Regions from separate parts of the Homo sapiens genome. Here region 1 is linked to region 2. Evidence: promoter capture Hi-C in human tissues and cell types (Jung and others, 2019). All regions are on one chromosome and are shown on one strand. Each heading gives the region's core, a stretch centred on a gene start or on the middle of the fragment in contact. The rest is flanking DNA. Distances are from core to core; before and after follow the strand shown. Region 1 has its middle 29 kb from the start of ARFGEF2. Region 2 holds the start of SULF2 (sulfatase 2).

Region 1 (2,785 bases), core at 131-2,630, 1.1 Mb before region 2:
TCTTCTGCTCCTCCTGATCTGCTGGTTAGCTCGGCATCACCATCGAGTAAACCAAATAACATGTATCTATCAGTGCACATGCATTGATGTTTGGTAACAACACCCCTTCACTATTCTCAGGAACCACCTCACTCCCATTCTTGGACTTTGTGGTTTGGGGGATGCTGACCCCACTGTCCAGCTGCAGGGGTTCGATGTATAACCCAGTATCTTGCCTTGTCACAGTAATTGGCTCAGAAACAGGCATGTGTTCCAAGCTGGACCAATGAGAATCCTGCCTGGGACTTCAGCTGGAAATATTGAGAAAGAGGACTTTCTACTGAAGTTGGTAAACTTGAAGGGTGTAGGTTTGTTGATGCTGAAACCATTGTCTGTCACCTTAGTGGAAGAGCTTGCCTAAGCATGAGGTCAACACAGAGGAAAGAAGAGCTAGAGATGGAGACATACTGACAACAGCATTGCAGTTGCTGGATCAAACTGTACCTGAAGCCAAACATCCCCTGGACTTTTCAGTTACATAAGCCAATAAATTCCCTTCTTCTGCTTAAACCAATTAAGGCTGGTTTTCTGTCACTTGCAATCAAAAGAGTCCTGACTAATACATCTATCAAACACATTTATCTTTATATTCAGGAGATATACTCCATGTACAGCAAAGAGCTGATTATTGTGGTGTCCAAGAGCATGAACTAGGAAACCAAATCTCATATGGAGCCGTCAGAGACCAATCAGAGAAGCAGAAATCCCACTAGGTATTCAAATAGAGGGAATATAATACAAGGAATTGGTCACACAGATGATAGAAGTGAGAAGCCAAATGGCATGTTAGACAACTCAGTGCTAAACCATAGCAGGAAGATGATGCCATCTTTGTTGGGGGAGGAGCAGAGAACAGTTGGTGCTACCATGCTGTGAAGTTGAAGCTGGGCCACCTGGCAGGAGACAGAATCCTGATGGCCTGCCCAGCTAGATCCAGGATCACCAAGGGACAGACTGTACAGCTGGATCTGCAGCCACAGATGAGGCACAGCAGCTGCTGATGATGCTTTGGAGGCACAGAGAGAGAGAACGAGAGAAAATATCCTGGATTCTCCCCTCCTTTCACCCTTCGGTCTACTGTGAGTGGTTCTCAACTAGCCAAACCCACCCAGAAACCAGTGAGATTACATATGTGCCACAATCCCTCCCAGAATCCTGGCACATAAGAGGCCCTTCCTTGGGAGGTATTGGTTGAATGTGAATGTGATGAAAAGAAAGATGTTTACAGTTTCTTCATCTATGTAGGGAGGATGAGGGTAAAAGCACCATGTGGGATGGGCTATGGGAGGAGGGGAGCTGATGCATGAAAGCATGAGCACAGCCACTGGCATCTAGTAAATGCTCAAGAAATGCCCTGGCTAGGTACAGGGGCTCACACCTGTAATCCCGGGGCTTTGGGAGGCTGAGGCAGGAGGATGGATTGAGGCTAGGAGTTCGAGACCACGCTGGGCAACATAGCGAGACCCTCATCTCCACAAAAAAATTTTTTAAAATTAGCTGGGCATGGTGGCACATGCTTGTAGTCTCAGCTATTTAGGAGGGTGAAGCAGGAGGATCGTTTGAACCCAGGAGGTCGAGGGTGCAGTGAGCCATGATTGCACTACTGCACTCCAGCCTGGGTAACAAAGTGAGACCCTGTCTCTAAAAGTAAAGAAAGAAAGAGAAAAGGAAGGAAGGAAGGAAGGAAGGAAGGAAGGAAGGAAGGAAGGAGGGAAGGAAGGAAATCCTCACAGCCACCATACAAGGCAGTATTACTATCACTGTTATCCCAATTTGACCAGGAAGGCTTAATTAGATTTAAAGCTGTAGTTCTCAACTGGGGATGATTTTGTGCCCCTGGGGACACTTGGCAATGTCGACAATGTCAATGGAGACATTTTTTTAGTTGTCACAACTTGGGGGGAGGAGCTGCTCCTGGCACCTAGTGGGTAGAGACGGTGCATACTGCTAAACATCCTACAATACCCAGGACAGCCCCCACTGCAAAGAGTGATCTGGCTGTCACTGTCCATAGAGCAATGGCTGAGAAGTTGTGCTTCAGAGACTTGCTCCAAGCCTGAGGCTCATAAGGGGCTCAAGCCAGCCAGGTCTGTCCGTGTCCTAGGCCACGTTCTTTTCAGTGCCCTGTACCACTGCACACACCAGCACCTTGTTTTCCCGGCAAGGTGTGTCATCCCCAGCAGGTGGGTGTCTTCCCTGGGGAGAGCCCAGCACACTTGACAACTGCAGCTGAACAAAGCTTGAGTTTCCTTTGCCCCTTCAAGTCCCTTCTTCTTCTCACCCAACTCCAGATACTGCTTTCAATTCCCAACTGGTTCTAGGAAGCATTCTTCCTCTTCTTCTTCCTCTTCCTCTTCTTCTTCTTCCTCTTCTTCTTCTTCTTCTTCCTCTTCCTCTTCCTCTTCTTCTTCTTCTTCCCCTTCTTCTTGTTCTTGTTCTTGTTCTTCTTCTTCTTTTCTTCTTCTTCCTCTTCCTCTTCTTTTTCCTCTTCTTTTTCCTCTTCTTCTTCCTCTTCTTCCTCTTCTTCTCCTTCTCCTCCTTCTCCTTCCTCTTCCTCTTCTTCTTCCTCTTCCTCTTCTTCTTCTTCTTCTTCTTCCCCTTCTTCTTGTTCTTGTTCTTCTTCTTCTTTTCTTCTTCTTCCTCTTCCTCTTCTTTTTCCTCTTTTTCTTCCTCTTCTTCCTCTTCTCCTTCTCCTCCTTCTCCTTCCTCTTCCTCTTCCTCTTTGTCTTCTTCTTCTCCTTCTCCT
Region 2 (2,776 bases), core at 1-2,500:
CTCCGGCCTCTTCTGTGGCGCGAGGGACAGCGGAAACCACGGTAGACAGCACCCCCTTGAGTCCAATTCCTCCCCTTTCGGAGGAAGCCGGTTTCTCCTTTCTATGCTACTCCCGGGCCATTTCTGGACAACAGCTGCTATTTTCACTTGAGCCGAAGTTAATTTCTCGGGGAGTTCTCGGGCGCGCACAGGCAGCTCGGTTTGCCCTGCGATTGAGCTGCGGGTCGCGGCCGGCGCCGGCCTCTCCAATGGCAAATGTGTGTGGCTGGAGGCGAGCGCGAGGCTTTCGGCAAAGGCAGTCGAGTGTTTGCAGACCGGGGCGAGTCCTGTGAAAGCAGATAAAAGAAAACATTTATTAACGTGTCATTACGAGGGGAGCGCCCGGCCGGGGCTGTCGCACTCCCCGCGGAACATTTGGCTCCCTCCAGCTCCGAGAGAGGAGAAGAAGAAAGCGGAAAAGAGGCAGATTCACGTCGTTTCCAGCCAAGTGGACCTGATCGATGGCCCTCCTGAATTTATCACGATATTTGATTTATTAGCGATGCCCCCTGGTTTGTGTGTTACGCACACACACGTGCACACAAGGCTCTGGCTCGCTTCCCTCCCTCGTTTCCAGCTCCTGGGCGAATCCCACATCTGTTTCAACTCTCCGCCGAGGGCGAGCAGGAGCGAGAGTGTGTCGAGTGAGTGTGCGTCTGTGTGTCCCGGCGAGGGTGCGCGCTCGGCGCCGGGAGCGCGGCCAGCCGAGTCCGGAGGCATCGGGAGGTCGAGAGCCGCCGGGACCCCAGCTCTGCGTTCACTGCCCCGTCCGGAGCTGGACTTCGGGGCCGGGGCCGGGGCCGTGCGCCGGGGACAGGCAGGGCCGGGTCGCGGGCCGCGCGTCCCCCAGGCCGGAGGTAAAAGCGCTAGCGCGCGGAGGGCTCGAGGAGGGCACCGCGGCTGGGCCCCCCGCGCCCCGGGCCCCAGCCGTCCGCGGCTCCCGGCCCGACGCTCCCCGCCCCGGAGCGCGCCCGCCTCCCCTGCGTGGAGGCCGGCGGGCAGGCGAGCGGGGGGCGGTAGCGCCGTGCCAAGGGGCTGGCTGGGGCAGCGTGGCCGGCCGGGCTGGGGCGATTTAAGAGCGGTCCGGGCGGGGTGCGGAGCCGGACTTTGGCTGGGGCGGCGCGCGGGGAGGGGGCCGGGGGCGGTGGCGGCGGCGTTGGGGGGCGGGGAGGAGGCAGGAGGAGGAGCAGCAGCGCTCGCCGGGGGATGCAGCAGCGGCAGCGGCGGCGGCGGCGGCGGCAGCGGCAGCGGCGGCGCGGAGTCCCCTGCGCCCAGCGGCCCGGCCGGGCTGCGGCAGAGGCGGCGGCGGCGCCCCGCTCCGGGTGAGGTTGCCGGGGCCGTGCGCGCTGGTGAGTGGGGCGTGGGGGGCAGGTGGGTGGCTGGGGGACGCGGGGCTCGGGCGGGGGCTCGCGGCGGCCGGAGCCTTCCCCGGCGTGAGCCCGGCCGCGAGCGCCGCCCAGGTGAGCCGGGGCTGGTCCGGACCGCCCGGCTCCAGCCCCAGCGCTGCTTGCGGAGGTGGGTCCGGGCGGGCGGGAGGGAGGCTCCGGCGCCGGCCGTCCGCAGAGGGATGACCTGTTTGACCCCGCTGGCTGGCGGGCGGGCGAGGACTTCCCGCCGCGCCCCTGACCCGCGGACACGGCACACCGAGCACAGGCGGCCCCGGGTAGGGGAGCGCGCCTGGGCCGGCCATCCGCAGGGGCATGGCCTTGTTGACCCTTAGGGTTTAGACCCAAGGGACCGGTAGATGCCAGCCCACGTGGGGCTTGTCCGGGCAGGACTCGGGGAAGCAGTGGGCCGGATCTTCAGAGTGGTTGGAAACTCGCAGACACCGAAAGGACAAACAGGATCGAAAAGGCAGACTTCCTCCCAGGCCAGGGCAGAACGAGTTTCCATCGCCTGGCGGAGGGATGCTCCCCTCCCCGGCTCCTCGGGGTTTCAGAAGTCTAGCGGTGAATTCTAGGAGTGCACTTTTCCAAACATTCCTTATAGTAGTTCGTTCATTCGTTCTACAAGCATTTCTGGAGCACCCCCTCGTGCCGGGCACCGCGTTCTGTTCCAGGGAAACGCGGCTGAACAGGATCTGGCTCCTGCGCGCCAGAAGCTGCCGGTTCACTGGGAGGGCAGCAGGGTAGAGAGATGCCGTCTCGGGGTGGAAGATGGAAAGGGAAGCCTGCAATCCTAGTTTGCACACTGGCCTCGGTCCGCAACTCCCCCACCTGCACGCAGTAGGCCCAGCACACAGTAGGAAGAGCAAGCCAGACCTGCCTGTGACGACCCTCTCCTCCTCCTCCTCCCCCTTGAAAGCTTTGATTCATTCCCTGCCCCCCTTTCTGGAAAGTCTTCCTGCAGCTTGTTTTAATCACTTTTTGAGTTAAAAGTCAATATTTAATTAACCAAGTAATTACATTCAGCTTACGTTTCAATCTGGGTATTTGCTCATCTGTGCGTGTTGGGACACCCGCCCTCTCGCCCCTCCATCTGTCCCCTGCCTGTTTCCCACCGGGTCCACCCCCACTTTTGGGGCAGAGAAGGGGAGGCTGCGCTGGAGCAGGTTCTCAGGGGGAGACAGGGAGCAGGAGAGACGGGCTTTCTCTGGAGGACACCCCCGGATCTGCGCGCTCTCCAAATTTCAGCTTGTAGTGAATAGTGAAGGTGATTTCTTGACAGCCTCTGCCTCCCATTACAGAACCACCAGAGGGTTCTAATTAAATTAGAGCCAATCGTTAAGTATAGGAAC

What was found. The method cuts DNA at HindIII sites, captures the fragments that hold promoters and counts their contacts. A contact is called where the count stands out against the background at its distance.
Region 1: a contact is called between a fragment that was not itself captured here and the fragment with the promoter of SULF2 in region 2, in 2 of the 25 tissues and cell types used here (mesendoderm cells and thymus).

The regions. Positions count from the first base shown.
Region 1 is chr20:48,891,214-48,893,998 of GRCh38, reverse strand. No RefSeq gene overlaps it. Among named protein-coding and RNA genes, the nearest start is that of ARFGEF2, 29 kb to the left of the region's middle. The HindIII fragment of the contact is 6,824 bases long and covers 1-2,785 here.
Region 2 is chr20:47,783,955-47,786,730 of GRCh38, reverse strand. It overlaps SULF2 (sulfatase 2), which reads left to right and starts at 1,250. Exons shown (of 21, transcript NM_001387048.1): 1 at 1,250-1,388. LOC124904920 (a long non-coding RNA gene) reads right to left here and starts at 977. Exons shown (of 2, transcript XR_007067618.1): 1 at 569-977; 2 at 1-326. RefSeq lists an enhancer at 1-132. The HindIII fragment of the contact is 5,454 bases long and covers 1-2,776 here.